3 separate regions of the Homo sapiens genome follow, and all the other regions are linked to region 1. Evidence: promoter capture Hi-C in 16 types of primary human blood cells and fetal thymus (Javierre and others, 2016). All regions are on one chromosome and are shown on one strand. The core of a region is centred on a gene start or on the middle of the fragment in contact, and the rest is flanking DNA. Distances in the headings are between cores, read along the strand shown.

Region 1 (3,798 bases), core at 196-2,695:
CAAAGTCTTAGTATACATAGTCTTAGTATACATAAGGCAAATCTGATTTCCTCCTTTTGGTGATCATGTCATGAAGGTTAGAGGTCTGACAAAGAGTAAGATATATTTCATACAAATGATCAAGAACATCACATTTAAAATATTTGAGTCCTTGCCACTTTATGCAAGGCATTTGGAGAATCTTTTGGGGGAAACATTCTCCGGGTAAGACAGAGCTGTCCCCGTGATTCACTGGTGGGACTGACCATCTGATTTGCAAATAATGAAGAAAGTGAAAGGAGGCGGCTGGATGTCAGCCAGCAGGCTGTGGGAAGGCCAGAGCCCTTCTGATGGGGTAGGGCTTTGCTAAATTGAGGAAGATGAGGTGTGCAGATAAGAGTACAGTATAGTGTGAGGAACAGCAGAGATGTAGAAAAGTTTGGGGAAATGTGTGAAGTTTGAAGCTTCAGAGTGAAGGTTAGTGGCAGGTAGGGAGAATGGGGAATGCAGCACGAGGCAAAGTTGAGACCTGTGCTGAAGAAACTCCTGATTGAGCCACAGGAAGCTTGGAGGTGACTCTAGGGGCAGTGAGTGCTAATGAAGGGATTTTAATTACCCATGATGGACAGTTAAGAGCTTTGCAAAATAAGGAGTGGGAAGAGAAAGAGGATGAAGATGCTGCTCAGTAGAAAGGAAGAGGAGGGAAAGGTGGAAGGAAAGGACAGAGAGGCGCCACAGGATGGAAACCTCAGCCCAGGAGCTGAATAGGTTTTACCGTGACGAGGTGTCTGTAGTTAGGGAACTACCAAGGGGATTTGGGAGTTGAGAGTGAAGAAGGCAGAGATCGACGTATGGGAAGGATGGGTTCAGAGAGAAAGCCAGTGATTGGTTACAGTTAAGAGGGGAAGGGACCTGCCAGGGCAGTAAAAGGCCATCTGCTGAGGGACTGAGTCCGAGGGCCGTGACGGAAGCTGCAGGAAAGATCTCCAGTTGGTAGGGTTTTGAGAAATGTGTTATCAGCAGGAGTTGGGTTGAAACAAGATAAAGAGAGCGTTCCAGGAAAAAAAAAAACAAAACCAAAGAGATAGAAACAAACATAACCACAAAGATTTCATAACTTAGGTGGAGAGCTAAGATCACATACATAACCAACTAGTATGACAGTTACTACACACCTACAAATTATTGACCAAGTGATTTTCAAAGAACAATTATTTGTTTTTGCCCTAATTAAATGGATTTTAATTTTTTGAGGACACTTGCTATGAATAGTTCACCTCCAGGTTTTTCCTCCATCTTGATGAAAATCCTTCCTGGCCAGTTTGCTAAGACTGAACTGTCTTCTGGAAGGCCCCAGCGAACATTCACTCTCCTGTTCTAGCTCACAGTCCTGTGTTCCTTTGTGATGTACCTCACTTAGCTTCTGGCAGTCTTCTGAATCCAGACCACTCACTTCTGAACTCTAGCCCGAGGTTACACAGCGGAAGAGAGGTAGAGCTGTTAACGGAATTCCAACTCACTAGGCTCTTGACTGTGGCCCTCCGAGCCCCTCCATTTCACAGCCGGTCCTTGATGGAAACCAGGCTGAGGCTGCTGTACCAATGATAGTCTGTCCCTAGTGTCCCAAACTTTGGTACTTTTTCAAGTTCTTATTTGAAAAAACTTGTAACTTAGAGTTTGGAGGACACGGAATATATTGCTAAATAGGAGAATAAAACTACATTTCCTTAAAGAAAACTGTAGAAGGAAGGGTTTCTCTTAGCTGAAGTGTGACTGCCAGGCCCTCAGCATGATTGCCTTCATTTCCAGCGTCCACTGGGGTCATCTGAGAGTCCATCCCGAAGCCGAATGTCACCTTGTAAAGCTGTGTGTTTGAGAAGTCACAGTCTTGTGGATGAAACATCTTTCTCCTGTTAGTATTTGACATAGAGTAAAATAACAAGTAACTTCAGTTTTTTCCTTAGAGGTATATAGGGCAGTAGAATGACATCATACTTGCACATCAAAAGCATGTAGTCTGTTTTTGATGCACCTGGCACGTGACAGCCAGCTGTCTGCCCCATGTGTCGGTTGGTGAAGAGTCAAAACAGACCAGCCACTAGGGTGTCTGTCCTACAACATTAGGGGCTATATTAGACAGGGTGGGTAATTTTCTTGCAATTATATTTTTTTCTTTTTTTAACTAGCACCATTTGTGTGTGTGTGTGTGTGTGTGTGTATAAGACTCAAATAAAGGGGAAGACTTGCTATTTCATGTTATGAAATAGATTCAGTACTGAAATATTGTGGAGTGAAAGGCATGAATAATTTTAATCAATTTTCTATGAATTCAGTAAACAGTGATTCAAATGAAAATCAGTATTTTAACTCAACATTCTAATGTGAAAGTTCAGATTGTTTTAGTTTAAATATTAAGCTGATGCTAAAGTTTATACATAAAAATAAACAGCTAAGAGATGTTATGCTAAAGTATTGATGGTTTTTCTATGAAAGTGTGGTACTAGTACAAATAGATCACTAAGAAACAAGAGAGTCCAGCTATAGACCCAAATCTGATATGTGATGAAGGCGGCATTTCAAATCATGGGGGAAAGATGGATTGTTCATGAAATGGTATTAGGGTGACCGACTGAGGACAAGATGTTCAGCTGGATCCCTGTATCATTTCTTTTTCTTTTCGCTTTTCTTTTCTTTTTTTTTTTTTTTTTTTTTGAGACAGAGTCTCTCTGTGTCGCCCAGTCTGGAGTGCAGTGGCGTGATCTCAGCTCATTGCAATCTCCGCCTCCTGGATTCAAGCAATTCTCCTGCCTCAGCCTCCCAAGTAGCTGGGATTACAGGCGCCCACCACTACACCTGACTAATTTTTGTATTTTTAGTAGAGATGGGGTTTCACCGTGTTGGCCAGGCTGATCTCAAACTCCTGACCTCAGGTGATCCTCCCGCCTCGGCCTCCGAAAGTGGTAGGATTATAGGCATGAGCCACTGTGCCCGGCCCCTATATTATTTGTTTTACTTAACTCAGTTCCAGACAGATACAAGATTTAAATGTTAAAAAAAAAAAAAAAAAAAAAGCTAACAAAAAACTGTATTTGCCTCAAGGGTGGGATGGTGGGGGCAGGGCTAATAGGTGCTAAGTGTACTCTCTACTGGAATATTCTTTGAGATTGGGTGCCATCTATTTCCCATTCCAAAAGTTTATTTGTAAGATTAATAATTAAACTATTAAATTACTCAAAGGAATTATGGGAGAGAAATACTTTTTAAAAAGAAGTATGAAAGTCCCTTTCTATGTAAGACAAAACCCCTCAGCGTGACAGTTGTCAGAATGTGGGAATGTTATTGCATTCTCTTTCAAAAGCAATTTGACAAAATCCATCGGTTCTAAATACACAGTCTCCTTAAGCCTAGCATTTTTTCTTCTGGAAATTTCAGAGACCTTTTGGATTGCAGTTTTCATCTAAAGAACCACCAGGATGGCTGATTAATAGAAAGGAGAGGTTTATAGGCAGTAACATTTTACAGACTGGGAAGAGACCTTCTCTGGTGTGTGCTGAAGATGAAGGGACACATTGGGTTTTATGCCTCACAGGGCCTGTATCACACTAGAGTCACATATATTTAGGAGTTTGGGGGCAAAGCGATACGTATGTATGAGAGGAGTCAAGAGCATGTGCAGTAGGTAAACATATGTAACATCCATCCTTGTTGACTTTGAGGTGAGATTTTAGCATTAAAATGAGGTGGAATTGGGCTCTTTATGTGAAAAGGTGAACTGTGGGACACAGTTTGTGCACAGCCTCAGCGAGCTGCTGAAACTGG
Region 2 (3,561 bases), core at 264-2,763, 210 kb before region 1:
GATACCCAGATTGCTTTCCTCAGACGTGGTTCTCAAGTTTCAATTCTACTTTAGAGCAATGCAGAAATTTAAAGTCCCTAATCCAGCATGTTCTATATGCCACCTTTTAACACATGCACACGTGCGTGGGCACACACACACCAGCCTCACCAGAGAGGAACTGTGCTTGGCTACTCATAACAAAATCCCCAAATCACAGCAGCTTAGGAAAAGAAATGTCTTTTCTGTATGCAAAACAAGTGCAGAGGTAAGGCAATCCCGGGACATTGTGGTGGCTCTGCAGTGTCATCAATGTCCTGGCTTCCTTCTCTCTGTTCTGCCATTCTTAGCACTGGCTCTCATCCTCAAGGTCACTTCATGGTCACAATACAGCTGCTACAGTGCCAGCCATCAAAGCCATATCCTTAGGTTTTCTATTAAGTACGTATGAGCTGTACATATGAGTCTAGCATATTCTTTTCCAAAAGAGAGAGACTTTCAAATGAATTTCTTTTCCTCCTGGTTCCCTCCACCTATTCTGGAGGTCTGTGTGGCATTGTAAGCTGAAAGAAGGAGAAACGGGGAGGAGCAAAATGGGTACAGACACTTATGACTGCTCCCTTTAAAGAGCATTCCCAGAAACCCCAATCTATGATTTTTCCATGATTGAAATTAAGTCACATAACCACTGCTGGCTAAAAAGGAGGGTGGGAAGCTTGGTGTTTTAGCTGGGCACATTCCTGCTCCAAATAATATTGGAGGTCTGTTGGTCAGGAAGAAGGGGAAAATGAGCATTCACTAGATAATCACAATAGAAAATTCCATCTCCTCCATTAGTGCAAGAGTGACACCCTCCAGCTAGAGCTCTGTCATCCTTCTCTTCCCCACTAAAAAGTTCTGCCTCATCCATCTACTGTTCTCTCCCTTTAGAGAGCATTCCTACCTGCTAAAGTAGGCTTGACCCCATCTCCTGCATGACCCAGGACCCAGCCCCTTCTCTCCTCCGTGACCCAGGACCCAGCCCCTTCTCTCCTCCATGACACGGGACCCAGCCCCTTCTCTCCTCCATGACACGGGACCCAGCCCCTTCTCTCCTCCATGACCCTGGGATTCAGCCTCTTCTCTACTCCATGACCCCGGGACCCAGCCCCTTCTCTCCTCCATGACCCAGGACCCAGACCCTTCTCTCCTCCATGACCCAGGACCCACCCCCTTCTCTCCTCTATGACCCAGAACTCAGCTCCTTCTCTCCTCCATGACCCAGGACCCAGTTCTTTTATGATCTCTTGCATCTTCAGTTTCTTCCCACCAGTTGTTTCCGTAGGCCACCATACCATACTGCTACTTTGAAAACAACAAAAAAAACTCATCTTCCTTGTCTCTCTATTCATCTTTAAGTGCTCATTCCTCTCATTGGCTTGTCTCTCTGTTCATCTTCAAGCACTCGTTCCTCTCATTGGCTTGTCTCTCTGTTCATCTTCAAGCACTCATTCCTCTCATTGGCTTGTCTCTCTGTTCATCTTTAAGCACTCATTCCTCTCATTGGCTTGTCTCTCTGTTCATCTTTAAGCGCTCATTCTTCTCATTGCCAAATGTCTCAAGAGTGGCTTGCCCTCCGGTCTTCCATTTCCTCACTTCCCACTCTCTGTCAGCTTCCCTTCACTGCATGCTTCTGAAATGCACTCTCCATGATCTCCAGTGGCAAATCCTGTGGCCTGGCTGCATTCTCTTTAACATCCCTGAAGCATCTGACATGGTTGAGCACCCCATGCCCCTGGATCCGTGCAGCTGGCTGTATTGCAGGAGGCAGACAAGCATGCAGTTGGGCATCTCTAATGCTTGTGGGCAATGCTCTCTCCCTTTGGCCTCAGTGACACTGCTGTCTTTATTCCAGCTGACATCTGCTTGCAATCTGCTTCCTTCTCACATCCCACAAATGAGGACACATGGCAAGGCTCGTTTCCCTGCCCTTTGGCCTTTGCTGTCTCCTCTATTCCCCTGCAGAGACTTCACCACTCCAGTGCCTTCTACTCCTGCCTCTTCTGTGGACTCAACTCTCCAGCACCCATCACCCTCCCAAGGATTAGCCCCACAGCTGAACCAGCTGCTTGCTAGACAAAAGGAGATTTAGCCAGGAATCTGACTCCAGCTTGCCTGCAGCTAGTTCTGTAACCTCAGGCAGGTCACAGAGCCCATGGGCCTTACTTTCCTTGGCCACAAATGCGACCGCTTCTGGGCTCGCTGTGGTATGCTTGGCTCCATGTTCCCACTTACATATCCCATCACTGCCCCAAACCCAAATGCTTGAGATTGGATTCAACATCTTTCTTCCCAAACAGGCCTTTATTTTAGTTGAAGCTTCCCCAGGAGAGCCCCAAGCTTACAACTCTGGAGAGGCCTTTGATTTCCTTACTCTGTAGATCCAATCGGGCCTCAAGCCCTGTCACTCTTCCTCTACAGGATCCACAAAATCTTTCCTTCTTCTTCACTTTATCGCCACCTTCACCATCTAACCCAAAATGTTAGGATTGCTGCGAAGAGCTCTCCTCCTGCCAAATGTTCCTGTTCCTGCCCATCCCGTACAACCCAGGCACGTGTCTTCCCAGCCATCGCCAGGCCCATGTCAGATCCCAGGTGTCAGATCATCCACAGCTTTTTCTTCCCCATGTGCCCCTCAGACCAGCATCTAAAGCTTCCATAATCTGGCCCCAAATGGTTTCCATTCTTCTTTTCCCTTCTCCCTGTCTCCCTCTCTGGCAATTCAGCCTCCTCCCTCCCTGGCAGAACCCACCAGGCGCTTCCCACCCTCCGCGTCTCCCTCTGCCCCTCTCTGCCTCTCTCCGCTTGTCTAAGTCCTTCCTGCCTCCCCATTACTAACACGTTTCATAGGCGTTGAGGGCCCCCTTTCCTCTGAATTCCTCAAATACTTGCTCCGTCACATATTTCTTCAAAATTGAGATATAATTCACATACCATGAGATTAGCCCTTTAAAAATGTACAATTCCGTGTTTTTAGTATAGTCGCAAGGTTGTGCAGACATCACCACTAACCCAGAACATTTCCCTCACACATTTCATCCTTTTTCTAGACCACCTACTGTAGTTTCTGTCTTCATGTGAATGTCCTGTCTCCCAGTAACGCCTGAAAGCACCGTGATGGCTCCAGGGTTTTTGCTGTGGCACAGTGCCAGGCAGGCTTCTGCACCACCGGGGATCGTCAGTGCTCGAGAAGGGGGAGGAAGAGGCGATGAGGGTAACAGAAACAGCCTCTAAGGCATTGAGGACCCAAACTCCGCCAGGGACCTCAGGGGGAGGTGGAGGTGACGAGGGTAACAGAGACAACGTCTAAGGCATTGAGGACCCAAACTCCCCCAGGGACCTCATGCTGACACCTGAGGGCCTCAGAGAAAAGCCCCCCTCCCTTATACTCCCCTCTATGTCCAACTGTGAGGGAAGGCTGCTGCTGTGACGTGAGTCCCTGTGTGGAGTTCAGCTGAGCCAGGAGCCAGTGCTACCCGGTGCTATGAGACCTCCTCACTCACCTTTGCAAGCCATCTGACACTCCCTGTCTCTTCTTGTGGA
Region 3 (3,995 bases), core at 1,280-3,779, 230 kb before region 1:
AAGGGAATTGTCTGTAGTTTTATTTTCTCGTGAAGTCTTTGTCTGGTGTTGGTATCGGGGTAATACCGGCTTCATGGAAGGAGTTGAGAAGTGCTTCTTACTCTTCTGTCTCGAAAAGTTTGTGAAGAACTGCTGTTAATTCATCTTTAAAGATTTGGGACAATTTGCCAGGAAAGCCATTTAGTCTTGAACTTTCTCCATGGGTATTGTTTTGATTACTAATTCACTCTACTTATTATAGGTCTATTCAGATTTTTTACTTTTCCCTTGGGTCAGTCTCAGTGGTATGTGTCTTTCTAGGAATTTATCCATTTCATCTAAGTTATCTAATTTGTTACCGTTTTCTCATCTGTCAATATTGTTTTATTATGAAAATAGATGAGGGAAGCTTAAGGACTGAAAAAGTTAAATTGAAAATGAGAATAATTTGTAAAACTGGAGGGGAAGAGAAGAAGCAGTCAAAGACTTCAGTGAAAGTCAAGAGGCACTTGAAGTAAGCCCTGAAGGGGAGAAATTGGTATTTTGTATTTTTTAAACATTCTGTGAAATGCACATGCCAGCCGAGAGACCTGGGAACCTCTAGCAGAGCGAGTTCCAGCGTGGTCTCCGGGCCCCGCACTGTTGCTTTGCTTTCTCCCGCTTTGCGTCATGTTAGGGCCATGAGAAATACGCGTACCAATTAATTTCCAGGAATTGTCAAAACACGGACAAATGAGCTGAAATATTTCAAGACTGACAACAGTACAAATTCTCTGGGGCCACTGTGACATTCCTCTCCTTTGATTTGCTTCAGCTGCTAATAACAGACATCCCAGGCAACAAAGACCATCACAGACTAAGCCAGCACATCATGACCAGCAGTGCCTGGCCGAAAGGGTCCCGAAGCCCTAACGGTTTTCCGGTCTCTGATGCAGTGATAGACATCCAGGGCACCCACCCTCTGCGCCTTGGAAAGCCTGCAGCACCGTCGCTAAGAGCAAGTGGTCTGGCAAGTTGCCAAGCAATCCGTCGTCTTCCTTTCTACTTATTTCCTGTTTTGGATATAGTTAGAGCTCAAAATCAATAAAAAAGTTCTTGCGTTCCAATCCCCAATTAGACAGATGGGAAAACAAATACACAAATCCGTTAGTGCTGAATTAGTCAGAATCGCAAGCTGAACTTCAAGCCATTCTAAGAACGGCACCAAGTTTATTTGCTCTAGAACCATGCTGTGGATAGGTGGGTCTCTGCTGAGGTTTAGCGCTTTAGAATGGACAGAGCGTTGCTAATATTGATACTATCATTGCAAGAGTTGCCTCACTTAATCCCCACAGCAACCTGCAAGATAGCCTCCTTTTACAAAGGATGAAACTGAGACTTGGATATGTTGAGTAACTCGCTCACAGTCACACAGCTAGAGATGCCAGGCCCATGTACTTTCTTACTTTCTTTTTTTCTTTTTTTTTTTTTTTTCTTTTTAGACGGAGTCTCACTCTTTTCGCCCAGGCTGGAGTGCAGTGGCACAGTCTCGGCTCACTGCAACCTCCACCTCCCGAGTTCAAGCGATTCTCCTGTCTCAGCCTCCCAAACAGCTGGGATTGCAGGTGTGCACCACCACGTCAGGCTAATTTTTGTATTTTTAGTAGAGATGGCATTTCACCATGTTGGCCAGGCTGGTCTCAAACTCCTGACCTCAGGAGATCCACCTGCCTTGGCCTTCCAAAGTGCTGGGATTACAGGCATGAACCACTGCGCCTGGCCCCGGATGGTTTCTATTACATGTCATATTTCCATCTGAAAAGCCCTCAAGCTGGAACCAGCTGACCCTCTTCAGACCTGGCCCTATGTCTAGGAGCTGAGGGATAATTTATTACAATCTGTCGCTCCTCAGCCCAGGACACTCATTAGAATCACAATACTGATCTCTGCATCCAGTTAAGTCAGAATCCTAGGGTGGGCAGCCAGGCCTTGGCAGTGCTATGGGCCTGGAGATGACTTTAATTGGCAGCCACTATTGAGAACCATCGACACAGCCTTCAAACTCTCTTGTTCTCTCCAAAAGTTTCGGTTAAATGGAATGATTTTGAGCCATTATTTGCTTTGGCACAAATAAGTTTCTTTTATCTTGAAAAACCTTAGGTCAGTTTCATTCAAGTAATACATGGTCTATTCAGAGAAATGGGTATATGGAGGATTTGAACGGAATGTGCTAGAATGTGACAGACTGTTGGGGGAGGGGCAGGGGAGCTTTGACAAAGAGCACTTAGGTTTCAGGCAAAGCTTCCTGGAGGAGACGACATCTGAGAATTCGCCACCCAAAGGTGGAAGGGATGTTTCAAGCCAACAAAGCACAGGCATGTGTGGGGCGAAACGTCCTGGTGTTTCAAGAGGGGGTGCAAGTTGGGGGAAGTTGACTTAGGCATGTGGAATGTGGGTGCCCATGGATACCTGGGGGTGGTGGGGAGCAGCCCAACAGGTAGCTGGATGGAACACTCAGGGAAGGTTTGCTTCCTGTGTTGTTGGAGAAATGGTCTGGTTGGTAGAAAGTCACTTGGAAACAGTGGAGACGTGAATCTGTTTTGTCAGCTAGCCTGTAAAAAACCTGTAAGACTTACTCATGTTTGTCATCTGAGATACTAATCCAATTTCATCTTACATGCTGGAAGATTATTTTTTGAAATCAGCATTCATTATATTTTCCTTTCTCTGTGCCCACCTCTGCCAGCTGTGTCCCCACCAATTCAAGGGAAGTTTCTTCTTGGTCTAATTGGACACCAGTAAGAACAACAGAATAAGATAATCCTGAAAGATGATGGAAGGAAAAGCTTTGCAAATAGCTTATGCAGTGGGGAGTGGCAGAGAACAGCTGTGGGGTCAGAGCACCTGGGCTGCCTCTGACCTTTGCTGGCCCTGACACTTTGGGGCTGGGTGATCTTGGGCAAGTCACTTAATCCCAAGAGCCTTAAATTCCTCAACTGTAAAATGAAGAAAGTTATACTGAGGTTCACCTCCCTGGCCTGTAGTGAGGATTGACTGAGATTCTATTTCCTCTTGCCATTACCAGTTTATGACCTAATAAACTGGAGGAGCTTTTTTTGTTTTATTTTTTTGAGACGGAGTCTCGCTGTGTCGCCCAGGCTGGAGTGCAGTGGTGCAATCTTAGCTCACTGCCACATCTGCCTCCTGGGCTCAAGCAATTCTCCTGCCTCAGCCTCCCAGGTAGCTGGACTGCAGGCATGCACCACCATGCCTGGCTAATTTTTGATAATCTTGGAAAAGCATAAGCCAGGACCCCAAATCAGAACTTTGTGCATGGAGTAATGGAAGAGTTATTGTCCCCAGACATGGCACACCAGATTGCAAATTAATAAAGACAGAGAATTATATTTATATAGAGCTTTGCAATTTACAGAGCACTGAGACATACATTTTCTAACTTACCCCTTTATTTTATTTTATTATTTTTTTGAGACAGAGTCTCACTCTGTCGCCCAGGCTGTAGTGCGGTAGCACGATCTCTGCTCACTGCACTCTTGACCTCCCGGGTTCAAGCGATTCTCCTGCCTCAGACCCCCACATGGCTGGGATTACAGGTGCGCGCCATCATGCCTGGCTAATTTTTGTATTTTTAGTACAGACAGGGTTTCACCATGTTGGTCAGGCTGGTCTTGACCTCCTGACCTCAAGTAATCCGCTCGCCCTGGCCTCCCAAAGTGCTGGGATTACAGGCGTGAGCCCCCGCGCCCAGCCTGGAGGTGGTTTTTAAACGTTCAGTTGAATGTATGTGCAAATTCCCCTCACAGGGGCTCGCACACAGGAGGCTCATAACAAATATTAATTTGTTCCAACTTCTTTTCCTCATTCCTTCCGTCCTCCAATTTTGCCACATCTCCAAAGACCTCCACCCTGGATGTAAAACTAGGAGCTAGAGGGAAGGAGTTCTCTTTGATGTAGTGACATGTCATGGTTCCTTGAAGTTATGGCCATGGTGGGATGAAATTAATCTGTGAACCCAG

What was found. The method cuts DNA at HindIII sites, captures the fragments that hold promoters and counts their contacts. A CHiCAGO score of 5 or more calls a contact.
Region 2: a contact is called between a fragment that was not itself captured here and the fragment with the promoter of SNX9-AS1 in region 1, in 1 of 17 cell types (activated CD4 T cells). The highest score is 6.0, in activated CD4 T cells.
Region 3: a contact is called between a fragment that was not itself captured here and the fragment with the promoter of SNX9-AS1 in region 1, in 1 of 17 cell types (activated CD4 T cells). The highest score is 5.9, in activated CD4 T cells.

The regions. Positions count from the first base shown.
Region 1 is chr6:157,891,437-157,895,234 of GRCh38, forward strand. It overlaps SNX9-AS1 (SNX9 antisense RNA 1), which reads right to left and starts at 1,446. Exons shown (of 2, transcript NR_183542.1): 1 at 1,257-1,446. All of the region lies in intron 4 of SNX9 (sorting nexin 9), which reads left to right. The HindIII fragment of the contact is 5,913 bases long and covers 543-3,798 here.
Region 2 is chr6:157,678,289-157,681,849 of GRCh38, forward strand. No RefSeq gene overlaps it. Among named protein-coding and RNA genes, the nearest start is that of SNX9, 140 kb to the right of the region's middle. The HindIII fragment of the contact is 1,643 bases long and covers 693-2,335 here.
Region 3 is chr6:157,658,753-157,662,747 of GRCh38, forward strand. The region is part of intron 8 of ZDHHC14 (zDHHC palmitoyltransferase 14); the gene reads left to right. Among named protein-coding and RNA genes, the nearest start is that of MIR3692, 130 kb to the left of the region's middle. The HindIII fragment of the contact is 545 bases long and covers 2,258-2,802 here.